Linked DNA regions of Homo sapiens: regions 1, 2 and 3 are each linked to region 4. Evidence: promoter capture Hi-C in 16 types of primary human blood cells and fetal thymus (Javierre and others, 2016). All regions are on one chromosome and are shown on one strand. The core of a region is centred on a gene start or on the middle of the fragment in contact, and the rest is flanking DNA. Distances in the headings are between cores, read along the strand shown. Region 1 has its middle 11 kb from the start of UGCG. Region 2 holds the start of MIR4668 (microRNA 4668). Region 3 overlaps SNX30 (sorting nexin family member 30). Region 4 holds the start of PTBP3 (polypyrimidine tract binding protein 3).

Region 1 (2,700 bases), core at 149-2,648, 450 kb before region 4:
AATGAATGGAGAAACAATATCCATAAAATGGAATATTATTTGGCTATAAAAAGAAATGAAGTACTGATATGTACTGTGACATGAATAAACCTTGAAAATATCATGCTGTGAAAGAAGGTAGTCATAAAAGTCTGCATAATATGTTAATTCTTTTTTTTTTTTTTTTTTTGAGACAGAGTTTCATTCTTGTTGCGCAGGCTGGAGTGCAATGGCGTGATCTTGGCTCACTGCAACCTCCGCCTCCTGGGTTCAATCAATTCTTCTGCCTCAGCCTCCCGAGTAGCTGGGATTACAGGCATGTGCCACCATGCCCGGCTAATTTTGTATTTTTACTAGAGATGGGGTTTCTCCATGTTGGTCAGGCTGGTCTCGAATTCCCAATCTCAGGTGATTCGCCTGCCTCGGCCTCCCAAAGTGCTGGGATTACAGGCATGAGCCACCGTGCCTGGCCCATCAATTCTATTTTTATGAAATAGTCAAGATAGGCAAATCTATATAGAAAAAAATTAAATTAGTAGTTACCAGGAGCTGGGGGGAGGGGAAATGGGGAATGACTGCTAATGGGTATGGAGTTTCTTTTTGCAGTGAGAAAATGTTCTAAAGTTGGGCAGTGATGGTTGCACAACTCTGTGAAGATACTAAAAATCACTGAGTGGTATGCTTTAAAGGAGTGAATGTTACGGTGTGTGACTATATCTTAATAAAGCTATTATTTAGAAAACGAACAAGCTGGAAGAGCTAACCGGGAATCTTTCATATTTAAGACTTCCTAGAAATTTTCCATTTTGGAAAAACTCAGTGTGGTGGCTATCGTGGTTATCTTTCCAATTCTATTCCTCCCCCATTCATTACATAGTCACCTTGCAGTTTGGATGGGATTATCCTTACTACCAGCTTCAATAAATTCTAATTTGACTATTCTAGTCTGCCTTGCCATAGCCTAACAAATGGTATTCAAGGGTAACCATTAGAAAAATGAAAAGGCTTAAGATTTTTGTTAGGTCACAACTAACACTTGCTCTCTCTTCCTGGATGTGAAGTACTGATAATTGTTGGCAGCTGTCTTACAACCATGAGCGAGGTCAGCTTAAAGACAAAACTGCTTTGGGAAGCAAAGTTTGGCACTTTGGGAAGCCAAGGCAGGTAGATCACTTGAGGTCAGGAGTTTGAGACCACCCTGGTGAACACGGTGAAACCCTGTATCTACTAAAAATACAAAAATTAGCTGGGTGTGGTGGCACACGCCTGTAATCCCAGCTACTCGAGGGGCTTGAAGCACGAGAATCACTGAACCCAGGAGGCAGAGGTTGCGGTGAGCCAAGATCTTGCCACTGCACTCCAGGCTGGAAGACAGAATGACACTCTCTCTCAAAAATAAATAAAATAAAATAAAGTAAAAGTAAAGTAAAGTAAAGTAAAATACTGACACATAGAGGAGGGGCGAGCCAAGACTATCTCAGAAAAATGGAGCAAGAACTCCATTTTTTAACTGTGCCTGACTCTTGTTTGCTTTATATAGGGTGTGACTCTGTGACTGCCTCAGTTTCTCCTAGCCTGATTGTTAATAGTGTCTCCTTTCTCAAACGAGTCCTGCTTTAGATGGTCATTCATACGTCATACTCCCCATAACTGGATTTTCAGTTACAGATCAATGAATTTATTAGTTAACCCAGGTCAACTGTTTCTCAAGGCCATCCAAGTTTTGTTTGTTTGTTTGTTTGTTTGAGATGGAGTCTAGCTCTGTCACCCAGGCTGGAGTGCAATGGCGCGATCTCGGCTCACTGCAACCTCCGCCTCCTGGGCTCAAGTGATTCTCCTGACTCAGCCTCCCGAGTAGCTGGGATTACAGGCTCTTGCCATTATGCCCAGCTAATTTTTGTATTTTTAGTAGAGACGGGTTTTTGCCCTGTTGGCCAGGCTGGTCTTGAACTCCCGGCCTTGAACTCCTGGCCTCAAGTGACCTGCCCCCTTCGGCCTCCCAAAATGCTGGGGTTATAGGTGCCCAGCTGCACTTTCCTCACTCTTGGCAATGTCTTAGTCTTTCTTCAGGACCCAGATGACCTTCTCCATGAAGTCTTTCTAGATTTTCTGGAATAAAAGTAATCACTCCCAACTCCCAATTTTTCTCATACCTCTATATCAACACTCATTGCATTACAATGATACATTTTTGCATTTCTCTTCCTCAGCTGAACTTGAACTTCTCCAGGGGGAAAAAAAGATTATGTTATTTTTCACTTTGTATCCAAAGCATGAGAACACTGTGTACCTGGAACATCACATATTTTATTGTATTATTATTTTATTATTTTGAGACAGAATCTCACTCTGTCGCCCAGGCTGGGGTGCAGTGGCGTGATCTCGGCTTACTGCAATCTCTGCCTCAGCCTCCCGAGTATCTGGGACTACAGGTGCAGGCTGTTTTGCATATTTTGTAGAGATGGAGTTTCACTATGTTGCTCACCCTGGTCTCTAATTCCTGGGCCCATGCAACCTGCCAGATTCAGCCTCCCAAAGTGCTGGGATTACACGCATGAGCCACCGTGCCCAACCTCATGTATACATGTGTGCACACATGCACGCACACGTATGTGCACACATGCACGCACACGTATGTGCACACATGCACGCATACGTATGTGCACACATGCACGTATACGTATGTGCATACATGTATGTATACGTATGTGCATATGTGCG
Region 2 (2,701 bases), core at 166-2,665, 400 kb before region 4:
TGGCGCGATCTTGGCTCACTGTAGCCTCTGCCTCCCGGGTTCAGGTGATTCTCATGCCTCAGCCACCAGAGCACCTGGGACTACAGGCATGTACCACCATGCACACTAATTTTTGTATTTTTAGTAGAGATGGGGTTTCTTCATGTTGGCCAGGCTGGTCTTGAACTCCTGAACTCAAGTGATCTGCCCACCTCGGCCTCCTAAAGTGCTGGGATTACAGGTATGAGCCACCACACCCAGCAGATCAATAATTTTATAGAGTAATTCATATTCTAATTATAGAATTGTAGATATGTACTAATGAAGAAGGTAAATGTTCTGATTCCTCTACATTTTTCAAATTAATGTGTTTTAAAGCGATTAAAAGTAAGTTTCTCTGTGTTTAGAATTTTTACTATATAGATACAAATTTCTGTGTTTTAGAAGAATTAAAACTATCAGTGCAGTCATAAACTAGTAGGTGAAAATTTAAAGACTATCATTTCAAAATTTGAAATTTGTCAGTGAATTATATGATACTTTGCTAAGAAGCCACTGAAAGATTCATATGACTGACTTAGCATTTCTCTATCACAAAATACTTGTTTTGTTTTGGTTTTTTTTTTTTTTTTTGAGACAGTCTCGCCCTGACATCCAGGCTGGAGTGCAGTGGCGCAATCTCGGCTCACTGCAGTCTCCGCCTCCTGGGTTCAAACGATTCTCCTGCCTCAGCCTCCCAAGTAGCTGGGATTATAGGCACCCGCCGCCACACTCAGCTACTTTTTTTTGTATGTTAGTAGAGGCGGGGTTTCACCATGTTGGCCAGGCTAGTCTTGAACTCCTGACCTCGTGATCCGCCCGCCTCAGCCTCCCAAAGTGCTGGGATTACAGGCATGAGCCACTGCATCCAGCCTAAAATACTTGTTTTTAAAGGAGATCACTGCCTTGTGTGAGAATTCTTTTAAATTTTTTAAAAACTGAAGTGTGTTTTAAATACAAATTCTGTCATGATTGTGTTCATGTGGTTCATGGTTTCCTAGTGTCTCCCATGAGATCCATAATGCCACTTTCTGTTTACATGTCTTGTTGTTTGGTTAGTAGTCATCAGAGACTAATCTATTAAATATGGAGCCCTCTCCATTTTTTTTCAAAATGACTGCATTTTAAGTTTCTTAAATTGTAAAGTAAGGTGGGTACAGTTTCTTCTAGTTCTTAGATGGTGCTGTCACGGGCCAGCATAATTGCTAAAACATCCATACGTATGGTAGACCTTAAGTCATGTGCTAATCATGAAAGCTGGGCTCACCCTGAATACCGGCAGTTGCCTGGTCTTTATAATGATTACTGAATGCATAACCAGTTACGCTTGCATGTGTTCATCATCATAACTTATTTTCTAATTATCTTAATTTTCAGAGGTTGGAGGTTTGCAATGTCCACTCAAGTTGCAATGCAAAACTCTGGCTCATATTCAATTTCTCAGTTTCAATCCAGAATGATCAGGTAAATCAACTGTTTTCTTTTTATACTTCGTTAAAAGGAAAGTGGGGAGGGGGGTGGTAATTTTTACAGGTTTAATGTAGTTAAATGAATGTACCTAAAGGTTGAAGATTTTTGTTTAGTTGCAGAAAATAGAGTTTAACGTCTGTGTTTAAGATAAATTTAATGTCTAAATGTATTTTATTTGCTGTATAACACTGAAAGCACTCATTAGAGAAATGTTGAGACTGAATTTTTTAATATGCTGATCTTTATTTTCTAACTTTCTGTGCTGATTAAATTTTATTATCTGTATTCATCAGAGCGTAGGCCATACAAATGAATTTAAAGACATTTTTCTTTGACATCCTAGACAAAAATAGAAAAGAGAGTCATTAAAAAAAATTTTTAGGTTGTGTGTGGTGGCTCACACCTGTAATCCCAGCGCTTTGGGAGGCCAAGGCGAGAGGACTGCTTGAGCCCAGGAGTTTGAGACCAGCCTGGGCAAAATGGTGAAACCCTGTCTCTACAAAAAATGCAAAAATTAGCCAGGTGTGGTGGCGTGTACACCTGTGGTCCCAGCTACTTGGTGGGATGAGGTGGGAAGATCGCTTGAGCCTGGGAGATTGAAGCTACAGTGAGTGCCACTGCACTCCAGCCTGGGTGACAGAGCAGAACCCCGTCTCAAGTAAAAAAAAAAAAACAAAACAAAAAAAGTTTAAAGAGAATGGTCTTTCTATCACAGGGTAAAAAAATTGATTATTTGAGGGAAAAAAAAAAGGATTTGTCTTGTAGCCAGGATATTGTTTTAAAGAAAATCCTTTTTGTTTTTCCAGGTGGACCAAACTACGAATTAACATGCTTCCTGCTACAATAATTTGTGAGCCAATTTCAGAATGCTTTGTTGCCAGTTTAATTATTGGATGGGCAGCCCACCATGTGTTCAGATGGGATATTATGGTATTTTTCATGTGTCATTGCCTGGCATGGTTTATATTTGACTACATTCAACTCAGGGGTGTCCAGGTATGTGGATAGGCATGAAAAGGTTGGCAGTCCCTTGGTGGAACTAGAACTATTTCAATTTAGAAAAAGTTGAAGGAAATGTATCTGAGCCATTCTTCAGCTTCCCATTGTAGGTTAGTCTCGGGTTTGAACATGACTTTCTCTAGTGGAATGTTGATGCAAAACTTAAGTCGATTTGCAACTTTCTATTGGTTATATAATCGCTTTTATTAAGTTT
Region 3 (2,700 bases), core at 149-2,648, 460 kb after region 4:
CCCCCTACCTGTAGCCCCTGGCAACCAAGTCTGCTTTCTGTCTCTCAGGATTTGCCTGTTCTGACATTTCATATAAATGGAATTATATAGCATGTGGCTTTTCTCATCTAGCTTCGTTCACTTAGAATAATGTCTTCAAGATTAATTGCTGATGTTTTCTGATAAATACTTTTAAACATATTTAGGAACTTTTTTTTTTTTTTTTTTTTTTTTTTTTTGAGACGGAGCCTTGCTCTGTCGCCAGGCTGGAGTGCAGTGGCGCAATTGCGCTGCTCACTGCAACCTCCGCCTCCTGGGTTCAAGCGATTCTCCTGCCTCAGTCTCCCAAGTAGCTGAGACTACAGGTGTGTGCCACCACGCCCAGCTAATTTTTGTATTTTTAGTAGAGATGGGGTTTCACCATGTTGGCCAGGCTGGTTTCAATCTTTGACCTCGTGATCCACCCGCCTTGGCCTCTCAAAGTACTGGGATTACAGGCATGAGCCACTGCACCTGGCCGGGAACTTTCTTTTTACTTCTTAATTTTACTTAGAGATTTAAATGGAATGGCTGATATGAGTGATGCCAGTAAATATTTTGGTAGTTTTGGACATGAGTATCTTCAACAGTGGTTGAAGTAATGTATATTAATGTAATATAGTGTAATGAAGTAATGTTATTAATGTAATAAATTGTATTGATAAATTTCCTAATGTTAAATCATTCTTGCTTCCCTGGAATACATTTGACTTGATCCTGGTATATATTTTTTTTCCAAAAATTCTTTTAGTGTACTGTTAGTTGTTACTTTATTAATGATGTTTATGCTTGTTCTCAGTTTTCTTTTTTGTCCTAATATTTTGATACCGGATATAGATAGTCATCATGAAATGATTTGAAAGGTTTCTGCATTTTAAAATTATGTCTTAGAATATTTGAATAAAGTAGGACTTACTCTTTGAAGGTTCATGAGTGCTCACTGTGAAACACTTGGGACCCAGCTTACCTCTTCGTGGATGTTCTCTGACAACAGTTTTGTGGTTATTTATCTGTTTAGGTTTTTTCTCTCTATTTAATTTCACCTTGATCACATAATTTTTCCTAGAAAGCCAGCTAGCTCATATAGATGTCCAAATTTGTTGGCATAGTTATTCACAGCACAACCTTTTAATTTACAATCATACATAGACACAAGTTCTAAATAGTTATTGCCTGTTCCCTTTTTCCATTTTCCTCTTTTTTTATTTTTTATTGAGACAGCATCTCTCTCCGTCGCCCAGCCTGGAGTACAATGGTGCGATCTCTGCTCACTGCAACCTCTGCCTCCTAGGTTCAAGCAATTCTCATGCCTCAGCCTCCTGAGTAGCTGTGACTACAGGCTTGAGCCACCACGCCTGGCTAACTTTTTGTATTTTTACTAGAGACAGGGTTTCCCCATGCTGCTCAGGCTGGTCTTGAGCTCCTGGGCTCAAGCAATCCACCTGCCTCGGTCTCCCAAAGTGCTGGGATTATAGGTTTGAGGCCACTACACCTGGGCCATTTTCCTTTTTCTATATTGTTCAGATTTCCTAAGTTTTAGTTTATCTGATTCATCTTTCAGAAGAATTAAATTTTGCTTTTGTTTATAACTTTTGTTCTTTTCTGTTTTAATTTATGCTTTCATTTTTAGATTCTCTTTCCACTTTCTTTAGGCTTTTTTTTTTCTTTTTCTTTTAATGGGAACACAGAGTAAGTCTGGCCTAAAGGGTTCTGTTTTATGGGCTTCATCTTTTTCAAATGCATGTTTATCTGTTATTGAGGACTCTTGCTTTTTTTGTGTTTTGGTTTTCTTAGGTCTGAGTGATGAGCTAATGCCATTTTGAGTTGTTTTTATGGTTTACTTGCCTCTGATGAGATAATAATTCAGACCTGCTATTTGCCCCCATCAGAACAAGTGGATTATATTGGATCCTCTGTGTTTCTACTTGATGTTGTTAGCATTGTCTTAGATCCATAGATTACTAGTTATCTGTCAGATGGGAAAGAAGCCTGGCTTTCTCTGTGTTTTAGCTGCTCCCCCCATCTCAGTAGAGCTCAGTCCCCCCAGCATTTGCAGTCTGGCCTGCTTTGGGCTTGTTGGACACACCCCAGGGCAGCCAACCCAGATGCCTTCATGTTCCTATGAGCTGCTGCTTCCATCTCTACCCATCATGCGGGGGGAGAAGGCCATGTGGGCGGGGTGCCCTCTGCTGGTGGCCCACACTTGGTGTATTTGCCTGTGCTTGGCATCCCCTTGGTCACAGTCACAGCAGCCAACTCCTTGGTGGTCCTGGATTGCCCCACTGCCAAACCTTCCATGTCCTCTACTCCCCACTGACAATCACACTTTCAAATTAGCGTGCGTGTAAAGGGGGTTCAAGGACATTTTCTACTTATTAAGTAACCTCAATAACCTGAAGTAACTTCGGTGACATGGGTTAGATTCCTCTGGGTTCTTTTTTCAGTTGTGGCCCAGGTAGAACCAGTAGACAGCCTTTGAGACCTTTGGCATTTGGATGGCACCCTTTCCTCATTTCCAGTATTGATATGACTCCAGTCACTGTTTTTCTTGTTCTTTTTACCTCCACTGTTTTTTGTTTTTTTTTTTTTCTTTCATTCTCTAGGTTAAATTAGTATCTGGAGGGTGGAAAAAGGGAGAACGCAGAGGCTTGTGTTCAACTCACTGAGTTTATCTAGAGGTCT
Region 4 (2,700 bases), core at 42-2,541:
TTGTGAAACTAAAATAAATGAAATCTAATGAGGTCAAAAGCTGTTGGAAGATTTCATCTTCAAATAGCATATCATCAACTGTATGGCAACATGTGAACGACTTTTACTGTTCTAGCAAGTTGCATATATTCCACAACCTCACAGAAATCTTGTCATCAAAAGTAGGTAACAAGCTAAAAAAAACCTCAAATACATAATGGGAATAAACCGAGTTGGAGATTTTTTTTTAATCCGTAGGTACAGATACTACAACCTTCAATTAATTCACCAAAATCCTAACATAGTTGTTACTTTAATTACCAAAATATGTCAAGTCCCACCCCATATCCCTGAGTCCCCAGAGAACAGTTTATATACATAGACTCTAAATCTTTTTATTTTGGTCACGGACCCCCATTAAATTTTTGAGCATTTGAAATGCCCCCGAAAATCGCTCGTACATCATATTTTACATACACGGGCAGATAATTCATTAAGTTTCTTGGGGAGAGAGAAAGGTGAGGGGGAAGCGTCCATGGTCACTAAGTCCAGACCCCTGGTGTCGAGAAAGCGTTAACGTATCTCACAGCACAAGTCGGGAGACCTCGGCCAAGTCCCGCGGCGGCCCTGGGACCCCGCGTGGGACCATGGCTTGCGACCAGGTCGCCGCCCAGACGTGTACCGACGCGTGCACCCGCCGTCGGCCGCTCGCCCCACCTCGCCGGTAAACAGCAACTCCCCCGGCAGGAGGACGCCCGCCCCGCGCGCCGCCTCCGCCTCCCCCAGCGCCGCGCACCATTTTCTGAGAGGAAGTGTCGGGAGGCCGAGCTGGGCTCCCCGGACTCGGGGCGCGGAGGGCGGACCTCGGCACCGCGGCCGGACCGGGCTTTCCTCTGCTCCCGGGTGTGTCGAGTAAGGCTAGGAAGCAGCGGACGTGTCCGGGGCGCCGCGTGGGGAAAGGAGAGCCTGCGGCGGACGGCAACTCCGCGATTCCGGGATCCCCACCGAGACGCCCGGAAGCCCCGCCGTCGGGCTTGGCCGGGGCCGCTCCTCCGGCCGCCGGCGCCGCGCACTGCTCCCCAGCCCTTACGCGTCCCGCGGAGAGCCGGGTGGAAGCGGCGCCAAGGCAACCCGGTGCGGCCGCCGCGCCGCCTAGTACTTACCCATCCATGGCCCAGATGGAGGCGCGCACAGAGCAGGGACTGACGGGCTAACCGCGAGCAGAGGAAGCAGGCGGCGGCAGCAGGGCGGTTCCGGGGACAAGCGAGCTTTGGCTCTGCGGAGCCCCGGCCGGTCCGAGGTGGAAGGAGAGTGGGAACAGGGGCGGGGACCGGGCACGCTCCCGCCACCGCCGCGCCCCCGCCTTCCCCACCCCGCGAGCGCGTCCCCGCCTAGCCCGACCCCGCCCCCTCACCGTCCCCGCCCTCCCTCGGGGCCCGCCCCTGCGCTCGCGCCCACCCTCGCCCCGCTGGCAGCCGGCCTCCGGCTCAGCTCTGGGGCGCCCTCTTCCCGCGGTCGCTGTAAGACCCCGCCTCTCGGCCCCTCGGCCCGGCGCGCGCGCGCGCCCCCAGCCTCCCTCCTGCGTTCGCGGGAGCGCGCGCCTTGTGCTTCCCGCTCCGCCGCGCACCCCGCCCGCCCTCCCGCGGCCCCGCGGGCCTTCCGGCTTCGCAGACCGGGCCTGCCAGGTTTGAATGCCTCCCTCTGCCGGCAGGAAAAGCTATGGGGACCTGACTCCCAAGAGTAGGAAGGAATGTCCCACAAGGACCCCAGAAACGAGGTGGAATTGCCCCGGGTGCGCGAGGCTGTAGATGACACGTCCAGGGACCAGCCTCTGGCAGCCCGGCGCTGGAGTCGACCGCTGGGACCGACACCAGCCCCATAGGTGTGGCTGGGACGATGAATGAGGTGAAAGAGGCTGCCCGGACTGGAATTTGTATACAATTTAAGTATCTGAGTGCATTTCGACCTAACCGTCTAGTATTGAATTTATATGAAAAATTCATTGTACAAACATGGAATGGCTATATTCCCAGCATTTTTTAAAAGTTTACTCATTATTCCCTTTTTTCAGATGAAAATACATATACAAAGAGAGTGATTTGCTCACAGTTTCACAACCAGGAAACGTTTGCACCAGAGCCCTTCCCTCTGGTCTGAGCAAAAAGTATATATATAATATAACGAGTGACAACACGCTTGCTTTTTTCCCTTTTTAGTGAGAAATTGAGTACTTTTTCAACTCACAGATCACCAAAATGTAACCCCCTAAACTGTTAAGCCAAATTCTTAACCTACTGAGTAAAAAAGAGCGGGGCTCCTCCCCGTGGCTTCGTCATTTGAAAAGCAACTAACAAGAACCTCAAACATCTATCCTTGCTAATTTCCTGCTTTCAGATCAGTAGGTGCTGCTAAAAAGATCTAAACTGTGGACTCATTCATCATTCAGTCAGTATTAACCTACTATGTGCCGGGCACTGCATGAATACACAAGAAAATCAGGTTCCAGCCGTCACTGTTGAATGGATTCTTCAGTCCGTTTATGTATATTTTTGACATACAACTTTTCAAATAGGTAGAGTAATTCGGTGAGGTAATTCTTAAAGTCCTGTATCTAACCTCAGTCCCCTTCCAAAATGTCAAATACATTTTGTTTTGTATATTAAATCTAAATATTAAGTTGCATTTGTAAACATTGCCAGATGGAAATGTAGAATATCAACA

What was found. Contacts are between HindIII fragments. The CHiCAGO score rates a contact against its expected background, and 5 or more counts as called.
Region 1: a fragment that was not itself captured here is called in contact with the fragment with the promoter of PTBP3 in region 4 in 2 of 17 cell types (neutrophils and fetal thymus); the score reaches 5.9 in neutrophils.
Region 2: a fragment that was not itself captured here is called in contact with the fragment with the promoter of PTBP3 in region 4 in 1 of 17 cell types (non-activated CD4 T cells); the score reaches 5.3 in non-activated CD4 T cells.
Region 3: a contact is called between a fragment that was not itself captured here and the fragment with the promoter of PTBP3 in region 4, in 1 of 17 cell types (fetal thymus). The highest score is 5.8, in fetal thymus.

What each region holds. Positions count from the first base shown.
Region 1 is chr9:111,884,781-111,887,480 of GRCh38, forward strand. No RefSeq gene overlaps it. Among named protein-coding and RNA genes, the nearest start is that of UGCG, 11 kb to the right of the region's middle. RefSeq lists an enhancer at 1,517-2,345. The HindIII fragment of the contact is 9,210 bases long and covers 1-2,700 here.
Region 2 is chr9:111,929,876-111,932,576 of GRCh38, forward strand. UGCG (UDP-glucose ceramide glucosyltransferase) reads left to right here. Exons shown (of 9, transcript NM_003358.3): 7 at 1,396-1,482; 8 at 2,295-2,484. MIR4668 (microRNA 4668) reads left to right here and starts at 2,225; the gene lies at 2,225-2,294. The HindIII fragment of the contact is 6,784 bases long and covers 1-2,701 here.
Region 3 is chr9:112,791,211-112,793,910 of GRCh38, forward strand. All of the region lies in intron 1 of SNX30 (sorting nexin family member 30), which reads left to right. Among named protein-coding and RNA genes, the nearest start is that of SNX30, 42 kb to the left of the region's middle. The HindIII fragment of the contact is 5,421 bases long and covers 1-2,700 here.
Region 4 is chr9:112,332,328-112,335,027 of GRCh38, forward strand. It overlaps PTBP3 (polypyrimidine tract binding protein 3), which reads right to left and starts at 1,292. Exons shown (of 14, transcript NM_001163788.4): 1 at 1,143-1,292. RefSeq lists silencers at 657-1,146, 1,297-1,616 and an enhancer at 1,366-2,336. The HindIII fragment of the contact is 11,957 bases long and covers 1-2,700 here.